Linked DNA regions of Homo sapiens: region 1 is linked to region 2. Evidence: promoter capture Hi-C in 16 types of primary human blood cells and fetal thymus (Javierre and others, 2016). All regions are on one chromosome and are shown on one strand. The core of a region is centred on a gene start or on the middle of the fragment in contact, and the rest is flanking DNA. Distances in the headings are between cores, read along the strand shown.

Region 1 (4,791 bases), core at 1,817-4,316, 2.3 Mb before region 2:
TTCAATTCCAGGATGCAGTCCAGGATATCCTATTGGATTTAGTGGAAGGATTTCATACATTTTCTATTGCTGTTCCTGCACTAACTAGACACTGAAGTTGTCAAGTCAGCCAAAGTTATCATAATACTTTTTTTTTTTTTTTTTTTTTGAGATGCAGTCTCACTCTGTCACCCAGGCTGGAGTGCAGTGGGGCGATCTTAGCTCACTGCACCCTCTGCCTCCCAGGTTCAAGCAATTCTCCTGCCTCAGCCTCCTGAGTAGCTGGGACTGCAGGCCTGCACCACCACAACTGGCTAATTTTTTTTTTTTTTTTTTTTGGATTTTTAGTAGAGACGGGGTTTCACCATGTTGGCCAGGCTGATCTTGAACTCCGGAACTCAGGTGATCCGCCCACCTCGGCCTCCCAAAGTGCTGGGATTTACAGGCTTGAGCTACCACGCCCGGCCATCATACTTCTGCAGGCAGTTTTGAAAGTTGGTGTCCAAGGATAATAATTTGCACATTACATGTACAAAAAAGGTGCATAAGGACTGCTACTCTAACTCAACACTTCCTACGTAGTAAAAAATATTCCTAATCTTATCTTCCGATTTATGATATTTGCCTAGCAACATTATAACATTTGCCTAGGAACACAGGCAAGACTGTTTATTTCAAGTCATCCAAAAATGACCAAAGGGAGACGATGTAAAATTTCACTAATAGGATCCCCTTGAAATAAAATATTTTGCTTCTTAGGTCTATAAAGCCAGTTTTGAGGAGATGCTCACAACTGTTGCTGAGTCAGTCTGGGGAAAGTAGACTGTGTGCCAGGCAATATTAAAAAATATTTTGAGTTAGGTTTTCATGCCTGAGTCTCTTTTTTTATTTTTTATTTTTTTGAGACAGAGTCTGGCTCTGTCACCCAGGCTGGAGTACAGGGGTATGATCTCGGCTCGTGGCAACCTCCACCGTCTGGGTTCAAGTGATTCTCCTGCATCAGCCTCCTGAGTAGTTGGGGCTACAGGCGCATGCCTGGCTAATTTTGTATTTTTCGTAGAGACGGGGTTTCGCCATGATGGGCAGGCTGGTCTCAAACTGCTGACCTCAGGTGATCTGCCTGCTTCGGCCTCCCAAAGTGTTGGGATCACAGGCATGAGTCACCACGCCCAGCCCTGAGTCTCTTTTTGCTGTAATTTTAAAATAAAATTGTACATGTACTTCATATTCCTTGCAGAAAAATTAGAAAACATAGGGAAAAACTAATTTTAACCACACAGGATCTCATTACCCAAAGTTGCAATATTGTTAATATTATTTGTCTTTTTTCCAACAGCACATATACATAGGTATTATAAATATTATAGTAAACATATATTACATATGTTATATTAATATATCATTTAATATATTAATATAAATATTATATTAAGTGGCAAAACCACAATTAGTTTTGCACCAACCTAATATAATTCACTTATGAAAATTTGATACTATATATGTTTCCACTCAGTGTATCATGAAAATGTTTTCAAATAAATATGCATCCATAGCATTCTTTACAATGACTGCATAGTAGTGTCTATGGCTTTTTAGTTAGGTAGTTTGGGGTTTTTTTTTTTTTTTGAGACAGTGTCTCGTTCTGTTGCCCAGGGTAGAGTGCAATGGTGAGATTATGGCTCCCTGAAGCCTCAACCTCCCGGGCTCAAGCGATTTTCCCACATCAGCCTCCCGAGTAGCCGGGACCGAGGGTGTGCCAACCACTCCCAGCTAATTTTTGTATTTTTTGTTGAGACAGTGTATCGCTATGTTGCTCAGGCTGGTCCTTCCGAACTCCTGGGCTCAAGTGATCCTCCCACCTTAGCCTCCCAAAGTATTGGGATTACAGGCATAAGCCACAGGGCCCAGTCTACTTTGGGTTTTAATATGTTTTCCTGTCATAATTCTGCAAGCTCAGTGAATTTACTGGCAGTCTATGCTAGAAAAGAATACCTAATATTTGTATAGTACTTTACAGAGTACACTGGCACATATTGACTATATAATGGGAATAACGGTGCTATCTGTTCCATAGGGTCATTTTGCGAAATAATAGTGCATGGCAAATAGAAAATAATCCATAATGTGAATTGTTATTACTACAGTCATGTCAACATTTCCTGTAATGGCAGAATCATCATCATGCATATATTTTAGGTGAGGAAACTGGCTGAGAGAGGTGAAGTAATTGCTCAAAGACGTCAGTGTGGAAACCTCAGCTCATTTGACTTCAAATTCCATAGTTTTGGCACTATCTCATATTGCTACTCTTTCCCGTGGGACCTGTCCTTTCCGACAACTTTGCAGGCAGGGCTAGCCCTGCCAGCTGCCTCCATCAAAAATTATTTTGCTATTTCTCAATTCTCCAGAATCCCACACAATATTGCTTGACTTTGGGATGGTTATTCAGCTGCAATTAACAGAGGCCTTAATAAGGTTAAGCCGCCAGAACGAGCGGTGTAGCATGAGCGAGGACTCTAGCACCTGGCAGGTGAGGTTGACTCTAGCACCCGGCAGGTGAGGTTTTTGCGCTTCTCTCTCTCTCTCTTTTTTTTTTTTTGAGAAGAGTCGAGCTCTGTCGCAAGGCTGGAGTGCAGTGGCCCGATCTCGACTCACTGCAATCTCCGCCTCTCGGGTTCAAACGATTCTCCTGCCTCAGACAGCTACTTTTTGACTCACTGCAATCTCCGCCTCTCGGGTTCAAACGATTATCCTGTCTCAAACAGCTACTTTTTGTATTTTTAGTGGAGACGGGGTTTCACCATGCTGGCCAGGATGGTCTCGATCTCCTGACCTCGTGATCCGTCCACCTCGGCCTCCTAAAGTGCTGGGATTACAGGCGTGAGCCACCGCGCACGGCTGTTTTTGCGCTTCTCGATTTCGCCACGTGGCTTTGCGGTAGCCCAGGAGGTACTAGGAGGGCGGAGGCACGAATAACACCCAAAGGACTACAGTTTCCAGAAGCCCGCGCGCGCCGCGTGCCACGTGACCACCTGGCTGGCGCGCGCGCCTGGGGGTCTGGTCCCTAGCCGCGTTCTCGGTCGCTTCCCTCTTCTCTCGCCGCCTCCTGGCCTCCGCACCGACGCGGCCCGGGCTGGAGCCGAGCCGGGGCCGAGCTGCAGGCCGGACCGGAGCCGGATCTGTACCCGCTGAGACGTGGAAACATGGAGGCCTGAGCCGGTGTGCGCCACCTGGGCTGCGGCGGCGACAGCGACTTCTCCTGACCCCTCTGCCACCCTCCCATCCGTCCGCGGGTCCGTGGAGCTGGAGCAGATCCCCCAGCCGGCTGAGACAGGTGGGCTGTAGCGCCGCCCCCCTCAGCGCGGCCGGGCCCGAAAGCCTGGCTGTCCCCGGCCTCCTGTCAGAGGGGGTCAGGGGCCACCCTCCGCAACCCGGCCAGCGCCCCGGGGCGGCGGCGAAGGGACCCTCCCTTCCCTGCCCGCGGGCGCCTGGGCCACCCGGAGGGGCTGTGCTGACAGCGGACGGACCTCTGTCCGAGTCCGCTGTTGGGAGTTGGGGGATACCGAAGGCCAAGTCGGTGCTTCCGGAGATGGGGCGGTGTTGGTCTGACAAATGGGCGTGTGATGGGCAGGGTGAGCAATAGCTGTTGGGTTTTTCTTTCTTCTTTTTACATTCATAGTTTATCGAGGTATAACTAACATATCAGAAAATTAACCCTTTAAAAGTACAACTCAGTGGTTTTTAGTATATTCACAGGGTTGAGCAGCCATCACCACCCTTAACTCCAGAGCATTTTTAATCACCGCCCCCCCCGCCCCAAAGAAGCTCGTACCCATTAGCAGTCACTCCTCCTTCTCTCCCCTACACTATTGATCTACTTTCAGTCGCCGTGGATTTGCCTGAGCAATTGTGTTTTGACTGAAAAGTGAAAGGGTGGGTGTTTGTGAACTGGGGGCAGTAGTGGGGTTTGAGGGTATTGGTGTGGTAAAGCTGATTGGATAAAGCTGTTCTCTACTGAACAGGGGTAGAGAAGTGATGGGATGATTGTAATCGGCCAGCAAAGCGGGTACCCAGGATAGACTGATTAGGGGGCACAGATGGAGTGAGTTCCTTGAAAGAGGAGAGGGGAAGTTGGAGAGAGGGGTGTGTAGAGCAAGGGTGATGTGCTGAAGGATGAAAACCTGGAGGGTGGAGGCCGTGGAGAGGAATGTAGCGTCCACCAGAGGAACTCAGGTGCTTAGGCTGATGAGTTGAGGGCTCAAGAGAAGAACGAGGTGGAAGGGAAGAGAATCTATAGGAATGGGTGAATGGTTGTTGCAGAGGATGAAATTTATGAATATATGGATTTCTGGAGTGATTATCCTGCTTTGAAGTTTTATTTTAGATAATCCTCTCAGCAACTTGGAGATAGACCGGACAAGTATGAATATTCCCATTCTGTAAATGAAGAACTAGTCTTTTAGAGGTTAGGTGTCTGCCTTAAGCTCATAAACTGAGTACATAGGGCAAAATGAGTTGGAATAATTGATGAAACTATCAGTCGCAAGTGGATTAAATGGCAGAGAACTGAGTTGGGGCAATGTTAATAGGAAGGAGATTCAGCTATTAAGAAGTCTGTGTTGTTACGACATATAGGTCAAGGAGTTTTTATGTTTTTGCACCTTTTAACCATAGAAAAGTTCACACAGTGAAATAATAAAGGGTACTCCCATGTACCCATTACCCAGCTTCAGCAGTTAACTCATGCCAATTTAATTTCATCTATGTCCCTATGCATTCCTATCCCCACTCACAATTATTTTAAAGCAAATC
Region 2 (4,946 bases), core at 533-3,032:
TAATGGCCCTAACGCCCAAGCTGGAAGGTTGTGGGTTTACGGGAATGAGGGCAAGGAATACCTGGCCCACCCAGGTTGGAAAACTGCTTAAAGGCATTCTTAAGCCACAAACAAAAGCCTGAGAGATCTGTGTCTTAAGGATGTGTTCCTGCTGCAATTAATTCGGCCCATCCCTTCATTTCCCATAAGGGATACTTTTAGTTAATTTAACATCTATAGAAACAATGCTAATGACTGGTTTGCTGTTAATAAATACGTGGGTAAATCTTTGTTCGGGGATCTCAGCTCTGAAGGCTATAAGACCCCTGATTTCCCACTTCACACCTCTGTGTGTGTCTTTAATTCCTCTAGCACCGCTGGGTTAGGGTCTCCCCAACCGAGCTGGTCTTGGCATACCCTTTTCATTGGTTTTTTGCCTGCTTTATATCCTGGCCACTCCAGCAGCTGATTAGATGGTGCCCACTTGGATTAAGAGTGGACCTGTCTTTCCCAGCCCACTGACTCAAATGTTAATCTCCTTTGGCAACACCCTCACAGACACACCCAGGATCAATACTTTGCATCCTTCAATCCAATCAAGTTGACACTCAGTCTTAACCATCACATACAGCTAAGCAGGAGGCTAAGGCAGGAGGACTGCTCGAGCCAGGAGCTGAAGGCTGCATTGAGCTATGATGGTGCCACTGCACTCCAGCCTGGGCAACAGAGCAAGACCCTGTTCCTGGGGGGGGAAAAAAAAAAAGAAGAGGCTCAGAGGATCTTGGTTGGAGTTTGGTCAAGGAGGGGATGTTTCTCACTGAGTAATTTTAAAACAGTTATTTTGTTTTAGCATTCTGAAATCTGAAATGGGAATATTAGTATCTCCTGTATCTCCTGGGAGCATCAAGTGCAGTACTGAGCAATAGAAATATAATGCAAGCGTCACATGTCATTTACAGTATCTTCATAACCACATTAAATAAAATAATTAAAAATAAACAAGAAACCTTCCTCCCTTCCTTCCTTCTTTCCTCTTGCTCTGTCACCCAGGCTGGATCTCGGCTCACTGCAGTCTCTGCCTCCCGGGTTCAAGTGATTCTCTTCTCTCAGCCTCCTGAGTAGCTGGGATTACAGGAGCCCACCATCACACCCAGCTAATTTTTGTATTTTCAGTAGAGACAGGGTTTTGCCATGTTGGCCAGACTGGTCTCGAACTCTTGACCTTAGGTGATTTGCCCGCCTCGGTTTCCCAAAGTGCTAGAATTACAGGCGTGAGCCACTGCGCCCGGCCTCAAAATATTTTCATTTCAACATGTTATCAACATTTAAAAATTATTGGGAGGCCGAGGAGGGGGGAATCACGAGGTCAGGAGATTGAGACCATCCTGGCTAACACGGTGAAACCCCGTCTCTACTAAAAATACAAAAAATTAGCCGGGCGTGGTGGCGGGCACCTGTAGTCCCAGCTACTTGGGAGGCTGAGGCAGGAGAATGGCGTGAACCCGGGAGTCGGAGCTTGCAGTGAGCCGAGATCGTGCCACTGCACTCCAGTTTGGGCGACAGGGCCAGACTCCATCTCAAAAAAAAAAAAATTATTGGGATATTCTTCATCCTTGTTCCAGTTCCAAGTGTGTGAAATCCGGTGTGTATTTTGCACCTGCAGCACTGGCCACATCAGAGCATTGATTGCACATCACCGGTCTAGACAAGCGGCAGGACTTGCAGTCTTCAGCGAGGGGCGGTTCTTAGCCAGATGGAGGCGGGGCTTCCCGGAGAGTTCGTTTTGGGCCCCATCGGCTTCCGTAGGAAGGCGCCGGCCGTGGAGGCGCCACGTCCCTTGCGGCGGCGGGAGAGAAATCGCTTGGACTTCGGGGCGGCCTCGGACGGCCATGGCCTTTACCCTGTACTCACTGCTGCAGGCAGCCCTGCTCTGCGTCAACGCCATCGCAGTGCTGCACGAGGAGCGATTCCTCAAGAACAGTGAGTGGGACCGCGGGGCGCGGGCTGGGGCGGCGGCGGAGTCCCCGGGGGCGCGTAACCTAATGGGGCCGCGTGAGGGGACACCAAGGGCCGGGACAGAAGAACAGCGGAAGGCTCGGCTTGGAGTGGAAGCCGAGCCTTTCCTCTCATCAGGTTTGGGCTCAACAGCCGGGAGAATATTCAACAGACACCCGCTGTGCAGGGCCCAGGGGGTTGGGGTGGAGGGATATAGAAGTCAGTCAGGGACGCCTCTGCTTGCGATTACTTCAGGTCAGTAATTTAATTCAGTTTTCTGTGACTACTTTTTTTTTTGAGGGGGAGTCTCGCTCTTTTGCCCAGGCTGAAGTGCAGTGTCGCGGTCCTGTGACTACTTTTAATAGTCGAAAACCCGGGGTCTGAGTTTCGGGCTAAGAGTTGGGGGTGTGGGGCCGGGCGCGGTGGCTCCCGCCTGTAATCCCAGCACTTTGGCAGGCCGAGGCCGGCGGATCATGATGTCAGGAGTTTGGGACCAGCCTGGCCAACATGGTAAAACCCCGTCTCTACTAAAAATACAAAGATTAGCCGGACGTGGTGGTGGAAATACAAAAATTAGCCGGGCGGGAGGCTGAGGCAGGAGAATCACTTAAACCTGGGAGGCAGAGGTTGCAGTGAGCCGAGATTGCGCCATTGCACTCCAGCCTGGGCAATAGAGTGAGACTCCGTCTAACAAAACAAAACAAACAAAACAAAACGAGTTGGGTGTGGAGGGGAAGGAGGCGTGACCCATTTTGGAGCATCAGTAGTTCACTAACTGATGGAAGGCAATAAGTGTTCCTGGGCTTTAGGAATTACAGGAAGGGAACGTGTTGGAGTTATCAGGACATTCAGACACTCATGTTCCAAGAAAAGTTTATTCAGATAGCTTATTGGGTGCATAGAGTGTGCCAAAAACTCTGCTAGAATTTAGAAATTCAAAAATGAAAACACAAGTTATACCTTCCAGGACCTCACGTTGTGTACCAAGTATGCCCGTTTGAATCACTGAAACGTAAACCCAGGAGCAAGATTGATTCATTTCATTTACTTCAGAAGATATTTATTGAGTGCAAAGTATGTGCCAGGCCCATTTATAGTAACTGAAGTTACAGCAGCTACTCTGCCCTTCTGATGGAAGTTAATCTAAATAAAAACTAAACAAATGACAATAACAAGTATAGAGAGTATTATGTAAGAGAAGTACGGGCAGATACTAACTTGTGTATCTGCGAAAGCTTCTTGGAGGAAGCGTGTCTAACCTGAAATCTGATACATGAGTAAACATTAACTCGGTGAAGGTGAAGGGTTGGGAGGAGCTGGAAGGGTGAGGAGAGCTTTAAGCAGTGTAGACCTGGTGTGAAAACTGAGGCAGGTGAGAAGAGGGTCTTAAGACAGCGACATGACCAGATTTGTGTTATTTGCAAGATCCTTGAGGCTACAATACGGAGGAAAGATTGGAAGGGAAAGCAGTGGATGTGGGAAGACCCATTTTTTTTTTTTTTTGAGACGGAGTCTCACCCTGTCCCCCCGGCTGGAGTGCAGTGGCGCAATCTCGGTTCACTGCATCCTCCGCCTCCCAGGTTCAAGCGATTCTCCTGCCTCAGCTTCCCGAATGGCTGGGATTACAGGCACGCACCACCAAGCCTGGCTAATTTTTGTATTTGTAGTAGAAATGGGGTTTCACCATGTTGGTCAGGCTGGTCTCGAACTCCTGACCTCGTGATCTGCCCACCTCGGCCTCCCAAGGAAGAACAATTCTAAATAGGGCAAGTAGATACAAGTGGGTATGACAACAATAATAATAGCTAATACTTACGTAGCACTTACGTACAGGATCTGTATCAAGTGCCTTACATATATTAACTGGTGTAGCCTTCACAGCAACTCTATGAGAGAGTTTCTGTTTTCCAGTGGAAAACTAGAATCACAAAGAGAGTAGGTGGCTTTTGTAAGAACACACAGGTAGAAAGTAGAAAGTGGTGGAGCTAGGATTCAAATGTCATCTTCCAGAGTTCATCTGTTCACCGCTATCCAGAAAAGTAGAAGGGATCAAGTTGGGGTTTGAATTGTGTCCCTCAAAAAGATGTGTTGAAGTCCCAACCCTTGATACCTATGAAGGTGACCTTGTTTGGAAACAGAGTCTTTGCAGATATAATCAAGTTAAGATGAGATCATACTGGGTTAGATTGAGGGCTTTAGAGCCAATGACTGGTGCCCTTATAAGAAAAGAGAGATTTGGAGACACACAGATGCACACGCAGAAGATCATGTGACAACTGAGGCAGAGATTGGAGTGATGCATATATAAGACAAGGTATACCAAGGATTTCCAGCAACTACTGGATGTTAAGAGAGAGGCATGGATGAGATTATCCCTCAGAGCCCCCCAGAAGGAACCAACCCTGCTTACGCCTTGATTTCAGACTTTTAGCCTCCAAAATTATGAAAAAATTTCTGTTAAGCCACCCAGTTTGTGCTGCTTTGTTATGGCAGCCCTAGGAATTTTATGTGGATCAAAAGATATTTTAAAAGTAGAGGCTGGGCATGGTGGCTCATGCCTAGCACTTTAGGAGGCCAAGGTGGGCAGATCACTTGAGGTCATGAGTTTGAGACCACTCTGGACAACATGGTGAAACCTGTCTCTACTAAAAATACAGAAATTAGCAGGGTGTGGTGGTGGGCGCCTGTAATCCCAGCTACTCTGGAGGCTTAGGCAGGAGAGTCACTTGCCTGGGAAGCAGAGGTTGCATTGAGCTGAGATCACGCCACTGCACTCCAACCTGGGTGACAGAGCAAGACTATGTCTCGAAGGAAGAAAAAAAAGGTATAAAAGGCAGAATTTACTCTTGGACTTTGGGAATAAGAGTGGATGAAGTCAAAGATCTCTTGGCCCTCTGGGTTAAGCCACTGAGTGAAGGGTAATACCTTTACTGAGTTAAACAGTATTGGAGGAAAATTTGGGGTGATGGTGC

What was found. Contacts are between HindIII fragments. The CHiCAGO score rates a contact against its expected background, and 5 or more counts as called.
Region 1: a contact is called between the fragment with the promoter of DYM here and the fragment with the promoter of IER3IP1 in region 2, in 2 of 17 cell types (total B cells and naive CD8 T cells). The highest score is 5.6, in total B cells.

Annotation. Positions count from the first base shown.
Region 1 is chr18:49,458,920-49,463,710 of GRCh38, reverse strand. It overlaps DYM (dymeclin), which reads left to right and starts at 3,066. Exons shown (of 18, transcript NM_001353214.3): 1 at 3,066-3,313. RefSeq lists a silencer at 3,088-3,667. The HindIII fragment of the contact is 8,649 bases long and covers 1-4,791 here.
Region 2 is chr18:47,173,200-47,178,145 of GRCh38, reverse strand. It overlaps IER3IP1 (immediate early response 3 interacting protein 1), which reads left to right and starts at 1,782. Exons shown (of 3, transcript NM_016097.5): 1 at 1,782-1,959. The coding sequence starts at 1,869. RefSeq lists enhancers at 1,614-1,743, 1,754-1,873. The HindIII fragment of the contact is 4,620 bases long and covers 1-3,211 here.